2 separate regions of the Homo sapiens genome follow, and region 2 is linked to region 1. The links are contacts of gene promoters, found by promoter capture Hi-C in blood cells and fetal thymus (Javierre and others, 2016). All regions are on one chromosome and are shown on one strand. Each heading gives the region's core, a stretch centred on a gene start or on the middle of the fragment in contact. The rest is flanking DNA. Distances are from core to core; before and after follow the strand shown. Region 1 holds the start of CEP192 (centrosomal protein 192). Region 2 overlaps PSMG2 (proteasome assembly chaperone 2).

Region 1 (5,476 bases), core at 2,273-4,772:
CATATGTTAGGGTTACCCAGGATTCTGACCTCAGACTTTGCATCATGCAATTTACTTCTTACACACTAGGGATCTCAACTCAAATGTCTTCAGGAACAACTATTGTTAGAAAACAGAATTATAAGGACTGAGGTCAGCTGGAAATTACAGGCTTTACCTAAAACTAGTTAAATTCAATACACTGTTGTCAAACAAAACACATCTACTGGTGTAGTCCATTCCTGAGGGCAAAACATGTCTATGTTCCAAACACACCCTGAAATAGTCTATATCTTCCTATCTCCATTACTACCACCTTACCCTACTGAAAAGCCTCCTCACCCTTTTCCATGTTTTTATTCTTGCCACCCTACAATTAATTATCCAAGAAGCAAGCAAAAAGACCATTAACTATGAATCAAGTGCCATGCCTCTCCTGAAAACTCTATGAGGCCTGTCACTCTCTCCCACCCTCTCAGGCTCATTCACCACATACTAGATTTTCTATTCTTGTAATACCCCCAAAGCCCACCCCTACCACAGGTCTAGAATATTCTTCTCCCAGATCTTTGCCTAGCTAGCTCCTTCCTGACGTTCACCTCAATTTATATGTTACCTTCTAAGAGAAGTTTATCTCTTATTATTAAGTCAAACAGCGCCACAGTCAATCACATCCATTTAAATTTCTTCAGCATTTATCACTATTTATTCTTGTATTTATCTGTCTTCTTCCAATGAAATAATTTCTCCCTAAGAGCAGGGGCCTTGCCTATCTGTCCATCACTATTTCCTTAACACTTAGAACAATGCCTAGCACACAGCAGGTACTCAGTAAGTATCTGTGAAACGAATGAATGACAACATTCTCAGTCAGTGGGTAAACTCTACTTTAACTTTAACCCCTATAAATTTAGAAGAGCAGCTTCTTGGGGAAATGTCTATCTTGTTCATCCACATATTCCCAATACCTGACAGAGAACTGGAAATACAAATTGAAAAAACGAGTTTTAAGAAAGAATCTATAACCCCTAGTTTGCTGATACTGTGTCTATTATTAGGTAATGTGCTAATTATTTCACATACATTTTTCTAATCCCCATGTCAAATTTGTAAGGTAGCCATCATCCCTATTATTGAGGAAACTGAGGCTGAAAGAGAGAATTAAGAGACGTTTCCAGTCCACATAGCACAAATGAGGCCAGAGGATTCCCACCTAGGCAAGTCTGGCCCCAGGGTATTCTTTCCTCTGCACTAATTCCACCTCCTGGTGGTGCATGCCTTGGAGTCCCAGCTACTCAGGAGGCCACGGTGGAAGGACAGCATGAGCCCAAAAGTTTGAGGCTGCAGTGAGCTATGACCATGCATGTGAATAGCCACTGCAATCCAGCCTAGGCAACAAAGTGAGACCCTGTCTTAAATAAATATACAGGAGCATATGCATCAGTTATATGTAAATACTACACCAATCTATGTAAGGAACTTGAGCATCCAGAGGATTCTGGCATCCTGGGGCAAGGGCAGGTCCTGGAACCAATCCCATGGATAACCTGAGGGAACGACCATACTTCCAAATGGCTCTCTGACATCTACCTTACCCCCGAATGCAATACAAAATACAAAACCAAACTTGTTACCTTTCCTCCATTCATTCCCGCCGTTATCTTTAGTCTTCACCCAAATCCATCCCTATTAACTGGCAATACAAGCCTGACACCTAGGACCATCCTGATCCCTCCTGCTCTCTCACCAAATTCTAATGCTTCTAACGTCAAATACACTTCTGGAGCTGAGACCCACTTCTATATTCCTAATGCCCGTTGCCCATCACTTTTTATTCTGAACTATCACACGAGTCTCCCAACTAGCCTCCCCAAGTCTAGCCTTGTAATTACTAAGTTATTCATTCATATACAGACATGTAAACTATTAAAATTTATAGAAAACTCTTCAACAGTTGTCCCTATTTAGAAGGGCCTAATCCAAAGAAAACTCAGAAATTATGCAAAGGTCATTCATGCAACATTCATTATCAAACACAAACCATGAAGAACCCTCTACTTGGCACCAAGAATGCAAAGATAAATAAGGCAGCTCCCCTCAGGGAGCTGACAATCCCTGTCAACTACGATAGTGTTAAGTGCTTCAACAGAGCTTTGCTAAGGGTGCAAAGGTAACAAAACCCACGGGAAGATTCCTCAAGATGTAACCTAATACCTAGTCTCTTCTCCAGAAAAGATTACACTTGTAAACCATTCATGGACATAACACATTCCTAAAGGAAATTTCCTTTAATTTCTCACATTATTGCATTACCCACCCCTCCTCCATCATCTCAAGTGAAGACAATATTTTTCTTCTATCCTATTTGAACTGAGTGGCTATATTTGCAATTTCTCTTGCTATTTCCTTAAAGTAGTGACCTCAAATTTCACATCTGGACTCACTAATTACATTCCTAGGTACATAAAAGATTACTGACTATAGTCATTAATCGTAGGTCTATGTATACAATTAAACACATTTAAAAGCACACGCCGTGGAACCCAAAGCCGAGTCAAACTTCCCCAAAACTCATCATTTACTCTTGGCACTTTAAGATATACTTTAAAACTAGGTAGGCATTTGGTATATTATTGTTCAAGGCTTGCCGTTTTTGCCTAGAAAACTGAAATTTGGAGAAAAAGTTGATTTTGGAGCAGTAAAAACGCCAGTCGAATGACCTCAAAATAGTAAGAGCAAATGGAAATATGGTCATATAAACAGCTGTTCTCCAAACGACTGACTTGAAGAGGTCCTCATGTTTTACTAAACAAACTCTGAAAGTAACAGCAAAGTAAAAGTAGAGTGTATTAACATTCGTCTCATTTCACGTTCTGTTGATAATGAAATCATAGGCAAGGAATGTAGGTAAACTATTAGGAATAAATGAACGCAACCTAGCAGAAACCAAATCAAGTGAGTAAACGGAAGACAAGGGCATTAAGTTAAGTTAACAAGGTTACTTCCTGGGTCAGAATTTTAAACAAAAAGGAGGAACAGAACCGCCCATCACAGGGCACATAAAGGAAACATCACCGGTCACTTCACAAGCACACTGCAAGAAACTCCAGAGGGTAGCACGGAGAGGGCCTGTCCCTCAAGAGGTGGAAGTCCCCAGACAAGAGGGGAGGAAAGAAGGACGTGATCCCCTAACAGTCTGTCTCATCACGCCCGGCCAAAGCCCGATGACACAGAGGCGTGCAATTAATCCCAACCAGGCGGAGCTCAGCTCAGAGGCTGCGCCAGGCGCAGAGGCGCGGGAAGCGCGGCAGTCCCCTTGCTCGCGCCCTGAGGCCGCCCCACAGCCTGCGCCCCCACCCGGCCCAACCGTCACTGTCCCGTCGGTCCGGCAGCCGAAACGTAGGCCAAAGGTGCATGCGTCTGCCTCCCGCCTAGGCGCAGGCCGAGGCACCAGCGTCCCCCCTCACCGAGCCCGCGTCCCCGACTTCGGAGGGCAGTGTGCAGCGGGAAAGTCCACGGACTGAAGAGGTGTCCCAGGGCACTGCAAGTGCGCGTGCGCGTGGCCCCCGCACCGGCTGGAGCCCGGAACGGCCGTACCGCGCCCGCCTCTGGTTTACGTCTGTTCGCGGCACCAGGCAAGGGGAGGAGACTGAGCTGGCTTTTGATTGGACAGCGGGAAGACATGGGGCGGGAAGAAGCCCGGTGATTGGTGGGGACAGCGCGTTCCTGGATTTGAAGCGAGGAAGCCGCGCGCCCTGCGAGTCCGGAGGAGGAAATGGAGCTCTGCGCTGCGTGGGACCCGGGGGACGGCTCCCGTTGGCGCCGCCTTCAAGGTCTTGGCGAATTTGAAAATAATGCTTACTTTATTCAGTTTGGGTCTCCAGGGCACCGCCAGTCACTCTATGCGCAAAGAAGTATCCCCCGCCAACAAATCCCCCCCGATAGGTTTCGTCCTTCCGTGGGCAGATGCAGACCTTTCCTGTTGGTAGGCGCTGAAAGGCGTCAGGTTTCACCTTCAATCAGCTAATTCCTCGGGATCCAAGTTTCATGACATTTCGCCACATCTAGTCGCCTCTTTGTGACAGAGTAGGCTTTGTCTCGATTGCTTCCTACTTTTCTCCATCCTTCTTAGGCCACAAAACCCATCACCGCCATCTGCTCGGCACAGGCCCTTAACTACTTCACTGAGACCATGCCTTTCACTCAAAATGTATCTCAGTCTTTTTCAGTAAGGTCCCTTATCTCAAAATTTATTCCATATAGTCACAGAGGGAAAAGAGTCCCTCTTTTCCAAAGCTAACTCCTTAACTTCGTTCAAGTTACTGAAAGATGTCCGGCGCACCTTGGAGGAAAGAAGAGGGAAAACGCAAAGTTTAGAAGTCCCTAGACCTGAGGTTACTTGGTGGGGAAAGACGTCTGTTTACTTGACCACTTTCTACCTCCTGCAAACATGGCTCACCTGTCATTCTTGGATATCCTCTCCACTGGTTTCCTTCTCTCTGCCTACAAAAATGCAGCACCTCTCTACCCAAACACACACACCACACACCCATACACCACACACACCACTCACACCACAAACCACACACACCCACATATGCACCACACACACGTGTGTGACACGTATACACACATCCATACACAACACACACCCACATACACATCACCCACACACCACACACACCCTCCACACACAAACACCACTCAAACCACACACCCACACACACCCCTTCCTTGATTCTGTTTCATCACCTAATGACCATTCTTGTTTCCTTCCCTTAATGGTCTCCACTTTTTTTTCCATAGAGGAAGCCAGGCTTCCACTTTTTACACCTTATTTTGACGCATTTCATGGTGTCTAGCTGGGTCCTTAAAACTTTATCAGGAATAGACTCCTAATTGTCAAACTCAGTGATATCTCCACAGTTCGACACCTCTTCTTGGAACCCTGCAGCCTTGGTATTTGCAAAGAGTAATTACCTTTATTCTACCTTTGTCCACACTCAGTGAGCAAAGATAAATGCAGAAAATCTCAAGATTTTCTGAATCCCAAAAAAGTAAGCCAAATGCTCAGCCCTAGAGCTGACCTCTCTTAACCTCTTTTTCTACAAAGCGGTCACACATTGGAGGTGAACTGCTTAAATGTGTCTACAGGTTCCGGACTGTCACTCACACCAGATCCTTGTTAATAAATGTCCTTCCTCCATAAATATCCTCAAGTCACCACAGCACTCCCCACAACACTCAGTAACCTGATAGGACTCTATTAACAGAGATCTCTGATTCAGAGTCTCGGCAGCAGGAGAGCCTGGACTCTGACGCCAGGCTGCCTGGATCTGAATCCTGGCTCTACCTCCCTCTTCCAAACTGTGTAGCCTTGGGCAAGTAGCTTTAACCAGCCGGTTTCCTTGTCTGTAAAGTGGGGATAATTAAAGCGCTTGCCTCAGAGGCTTACTGTGAGGATTTAAAGCTACTTCTGTAAGGTATCTAGAAAAAT
Region 2 (5,859 bases), core at 1,845-4,344, 260 kb after region 1:
ATTTTGAAAGAATATAGGTATTTACTTTGTGGTTATCCTGGGACTTACATGAGACATCTTATACTTGTAATAATCTATTTTAAGCTGATAACAACTTACTCAATCATATACAAAAACCACTTTTACAACTCTACTTTTAAATTATTGATGTAGGGCCAGGTGCAGTGGCTCATGCCTGTAACCCCAGCACTTTTGGAGGCCAAGGTGGGAGGATGGCTTGAGCTCAGGAGTTCAAAACCAGCCTGGACAACATAGCAAGATCTCTCATCTTAAAAAAATTATTTTTAAAATTTTTATTTCAATGGTTTTTGGGGTACAGGTGGTTTTTGGTTACCTGGATAAGTTCTTCAGTGGTGATTTCTGAGATTTTAGTGTACCCATCACCCAAGCAGTCTATGTTATAATCAACATGTAGTGTTTTATTCCTCACCCCCTCCAAACCTCCCTGGCTAAGTCCTCAAAGTCCATTATATCATTCTTTTTTTTTTTTTTTACCCTGAGATGGAGTCTTGTTTTGTTGCCTAGGCTGGAGTGCAGTGGTGCAATCTTGGCTCACTGCAACCTCCACCTCCTGGGTGATTCTTGTGCCTCACCCTCCCTAGTAGGTGGGACTACAAGCACATGCCGCCACATCCAGCTAATTTTTGTATTTTTTTTTTTTTGTAGAGACAGGGTTTCACCATGTTGGCCAGGCTGGTCTCGAACTCCTGGCCTCAAGTGATCCACCCACCTTGACATCCCAAAGTGCTGGGGTTACAGGTGTGAGCCACTGTGCCTGGCCTGCTAAAGTCCATTATATCATTCTTATGCCTTTGAGCCCTCATAGCTTAGCTCCCACTTGTGAGAGGTACAATATTTGGTTTTCCATTTCTGAGTTACTTTACTTAGAATAATGGCCTCTGGCTCCATCCAAGTTGCTGCAAAAGACATTATTTCATTCCTTTTTATGGCTGAAGAGTAGTACTCCACGATGAATATACCACATTTTCTTTATCCACTCATTGGTTGATGGTCACTTAGGTTGGTTCTATATCTTTGCAATTGTGAATTGTGCTGCTATAAACGTGTGTGCATGTGTCTTTTTCATATAATGACTTATTTTCCTTTGGGTATATACCCTGTAGTGGGATTGCTGGATCAGATGGTGTTCTACTTTTTGTTCTTTAAGGAATCTCCGCACTGTTTCCCATAGTGGTTGTACTAATTTACATTCCCACCAGCAGTGTAGAAGTGTTCCCTTTTCACCACATTCACACCAACATCTATTGTTTTTTTGACTTTTTAATTATGATCGTTCTTGCAGGAGTAAGGTGATATCTCATTGCGGTCTTAACATCTCCCTGATGATTAGCGATGTTGAGCATTTTTTCATGTTCGTTGGCTGCTTGTATATCTTCTTTTGAGAATTGTCTATTTATGTTCTTTGCCACTTTGTAATGGGATTATTTTTTTCTTGCTCATTTGAGTTCCTTATAGATTCTGGATATTATTCCTTTGTCGGATGCATAGTTTGCAAATTTCTCCCACTCTGTGGGTTGTCTGCTTACTCTGCTGTTTGTTTTGCTGTGCAAAAGCTAAAAAAAAAATTATTGATGTCACAAATTACACCTTTACATAGTGCGTACCCATTAAGATATTTTAACATATTTTTATAGTTACAGTGTTTGTTTTGATTTTTAGAGATGGGGCTTCACTTTTTTGCCCAGGCTGGTCTTAAACTCCTGGCTTCAAGAAATCTTCCCCAAGTGCTGGGATGACATGTGTGGGTCACCGTGCCTGGCCAGTTACAGTTATTTTTATGCTTTGTCTTGTCAATTCTGGACCAGAATTAAAAGTGCACTACCATTATAGTCCTGAAGGATTCTGCATTTGTCTATATTTAGTTTGCCAGTGAGCCTCATATTTTCTTTTTCTTTTTGGGACAGAGTCTCGCTCTGTTGCCCAGGTTGGAGTGCAGTGGCATGATCTTGGCTCACTGCAACCGCCGCCTTCTGGGTTTGAGCAATTCTCCTGCCTCAGCCTCCCGCATAGCTGGGATTACAAGTGTGTGCCACCATGTCTGGCTAATTTGTTTTTTTGTATTTTTAGTAGAGATGGGGTTTCACCATATTGGTCAGGCTGGTCGCGAACTCCTGACCTCAGGTGATCCTCCCACCTCAGCCTCCCAAAGTGCTGGGGTTATAGGTGTAAGGCACTACACTCGGCCACTCCCAATCTTTGCATACTGGCTTTGTACAGGGCAGACCTTCACCAGCTAGCCCAGGTAGAGATTCTGAAACCTCTTAAATGTTTTTCCAAGTTCAACTTTTTAGGATTGTGTTATTTCCCAACTGAAGGTTGCTGGTTTTTCATCTTGTAATCTCTTGCTCCCTCTGGTGTCTGTCTTCAGAATTGCACGTTCCCTAGTGCTGCAGCTGCAAGTCGCCCCTTTGTTCTCAGTGGCTCTCTGGCAAAGCATGACAGCTTCCTATAAGCACCCCAAGTTAGATGAGATGGGCAACAGTCCCTTGGGCAGCACTACAAAAAGCTGCAATGCTGGCGTGTAAGTTCCATTCCTCCTGGGAGAGAAAATGCAAGTTGGGTGATTTCTCTTGGTGGTGTCCAGCCACACTGGCCTGTCTGTGGTACTACAGGCTCTGGTGGCACGGCAAACGATCCTCCAACTCTCCCGTGCTTTTAGCAGACTCCAGACATCCAAAGGATGCCAGTTCTGTCAGTATTCCAAGTCAGACAAGACGAAAGAGTCAGAATCTTGGTCACATGCTCCAACGTTCTCTACCTCTCTCCCCCTCACCGAGTCTGCCCCCTTCAACCCAGGGAAAAGCCAGGAGCTGGCGTACTCGCCATCATGCTGGGCTGTCATCCTGGGTGGAGTAAAGTGAAATGACTCTTCTTACTCATTTCAACGTGGCTGTTCTTAATTTTGCACTCACCTGGGGATACTGCAACTTAACTGGTTTCTGGTATCCTGGTCTATAAATTAAACTGGTGTCTCTGTGGGGTAATGAGGACTGGTACTTCCTATTTTGCCATCTTGCTGATGTCAACCCCCATTTCATATTTTAACCAAAAGGGAAACAGAAATAGGCCACAGAATCCAGCATGATTTACATATCAAAAGGAAACCTTTCCGGAGTGCTGGGAAGTAGTTGTATCCTTAAATATTACAAGCCCTTGTGTTACAGATGAGAGAGCCAAGGCACAGAGGTAACACAGTGAAATCGTACATCCCAAAGACTAGGGGTGAACAGTGACTAGTATGCAGCAGGCACTCGAAAATGATAACTATTTTTATTATTTCTTTTATAGTAAAATTATTCTAAAATGGGGAAACTATCCTGGATTATTGGGGTGGGCCCAATGCAATCACAGGGTCCTTTTATAACTGAGAGATTTGAAGATGCTAAGCTGCTGGCTTTGAAGATAGAAGGGCCCATGAGCCAAATAATATGGCAGCCTCTAGAAGCTGGAAACAGCAGAACACAAATTCTCCCTAAGGCCTTCCTCAGGAGCAGTGCCCTGCGATCACCCTGATTTTAGTCTCGTCAGACCCACTGTTGGATTTCTGACTCCTAGAACTCAGAAGTCAGAATTTAAAAGCAAATTTGTGGCTGGGCATAGTGGTGTAATGCCTGTAATCTCAGCACTTTGGGAGGACATGGCAGGAGGATTGCCTGAGCCCAGGAGTTTGAGACCAGCCTGGGCAACATGGCAAGACCTCGTCTCATTTTACTTAAAATACAGAATGAAAATTAATTAATTAGTTAATGAAAAAATTAAACTGGTGTGTTTTAAGTCACTAAGTTTGTGGTGATTTATTAGAGACAAACTAGGAAGCTAATAGAGAGTCTGAAATTAAAAAAAATACATTTAAGACAAAATTACTTAGGAAATAAAATTTTATTGTACAAAATTTACATTTGGTGCATATGATGAAAAGCATGGCAAAGAGACCCTTAATCTTTTTTCTTTGATATTTACTGTGAAAGTAATTTCCTAATACCAGATCATACAATTTTTTTGTATAGAATGTTTAACAGCTGTGTTGGTAGTAAGTGTTTTGGGTATAAGGTATAAAACAGAAATTAGATCAGAAAAGTGCAGGGGGAAGACCACTGCCAAAGAGTAATCTCCAAGAACTTGGTATTTTCCACCGTGAGGCAGATACTGTGGGGTCATCGCTCTGTAATTGAAGAACAAAATATTTTAATCTTTAAACTTTACCATCAAATCTCCTTTTAAAGTGAATTATAAAACTCTCCTTTTGTGTTCCTTTTGGTTGGCACTTTTATAGCCAGGTTTTATTGTTAAGGAAAAATAAAGTTTCTTTGTCTTCATGTCAACTGAAGATAAATTTCTTTAAGTTCCAAATTATAAAGATATGCCAGAAAGGCTGTAGATGAAGTTTATTAGGGAAAATCACATTCAAAAAGAATAGGGATTAAAAAAAAAATCAGCATTATGTGATTTGTATCAATTTGTTCTTGGCAAAAGCATGAATTAAAAAGCTAGTTACCCATCTTAGAAAGCAGCCTTATGCTCAGTGTTCTGTTATGCCTAAAGGCTAACTCACTTCCCTGGGTGTAATGCTCTCATTTCATAATAGAGAAAAATATCAACTGTAATACATATTCAATAGCTACAGTATTGCTCACATAGCAATACTTTTTACTTCCCTAAAAAAATTCCTGAATTCCACAGAAGGCTTGTTTATTATTGCAAGACTATGTCTGGCATAATTAATCTAACATGAATAGTAAGTACAATGAAGAACTAAGGATTTTCCTTTTTGGAAAGTCAGCTTTAATGAAAAAACTGTAAATAATAGGTTGGTTAACTGTCCTCTAATTTTCAAAAGTTCAGCTTAAACTAAATTTTATGTAAAGATATGTCTATATTTAATACAAACGTTCACTTACTTGGTCTACTTAGGTAGTATATAAAGTGCGAGTTAATGAATACAACCAGACAAAGAAGAGGCTTAAGCTATAATAGAACTTACAAGTGGTTTGAGTATCTGAAGCCACTCATTAAGATACTCAACAAGACCTAATGCATCTGGGATGTTGTCCCCTTCTGAAACAAATTTCAGCAGAACTGCCATTTGGATTTCTTTAGAACAGCTACAAGAAATAAAAATAAGAATCAGTATTCTTTCATAGGGTACAAGAGCTGACTCTAGTGTGTCTGTTTTTACAGCTACGATAACCTACCTGGTTTAGGAAAGGAAAAGACGCCACACCATAAGATCACTTATCATCTCCCTTCGCCCCACACAGAGTTTTCTACTTGTGAGAGCAGGCCCCTGTAACACCCACTGGGGAACACGCACAATCATGCCTCACCCCATGGCTGCATGAAAAACCAGCCTTTCTGTCCTTGGCTACAGCAGATAAGGTATGTTCTGACCTACTCCCCAAACCTACTTCAGAAGACAGTAATTTTCAGAAGCACCACAGCAGAGACTGAAAGAAAATAACACCTAGTTACTATCTAAAGCAGTGAGGGAAACTGTGGAAGAGAATGGAATCATTAAAGGAAATAAAAGTTCCTACTTCTTCCGAAAACGCTGAGTGGTTATTATGTGTTAAGCATTATCTGCAAATTTTATGACAATCCCTGTAATAATCCTGAAGAAGCTATAATTAGCTCCATTTTATAAGTGAATCAGTTTGGAATAACGGGAACAAAGACAGACACCAGGATTCAGATTCTAGCTCTTCAACTTACCAGATATGTTGGGCAAGTTACTTAACCAGGGGTGTTCCTCATCTATAAAAGGGGGATGATAATGGAACCTACTTCACAGGTTGTTGTGAGGCTGAAAGGAGGTAGTGGAGGCAAAATGCTTAAAACAGT

The links. The method cuts DNA at HindIII sites, captures the fragments that hold promoters and counts their contacts. A CHiCAGO score of 5 or more calls a contact.
Region 2: a contact is called between a fragment that was not itself captured here and the fragment with the promoter of CEP192 in region 1, in 4 of 17 cell types (neutrophils, activated CD4 T cells, naive CD8 T cells and 1 more). The highest score is 9.4, in neutrophils.

What each region holds. Positions count from the first base shown.
Region 1 is chr18:12,989,408-12,994,883 of GRCh38, reverse strand. It overlaps CEP192 (centrosomal protein 192), which reads right to left and starts at 3,522. Exons shown (of 45, transcript NM_032142.4): 1 at 3,447-3,522. RefSeq lists a silencer at 3,261-3,340 and enhancers at 3,821-4,200, 4,591-5,203. The HindIII fragment of the contact is 8,933 bases long and covers 1-5,476 here.
Region 2 is chr18:12,723,763-12,729,621 of GRCh38, reverse strand. It overlaps PSMG2 (proteasome assembly chaperone 2), which reads right to left. Exons shown (of 7, transcript NM_020232.5): 6 at 5,003-5,123; 7 at 3,882-4,183. The coding sequence ends at 4,091. Among named protein-coding and RNA genes, the nearest start is that of LINC01882, 23 kb to the left of the region's middle. The HindIII fragment of the contact is 7,922 bases long and covers 1-5,859 here.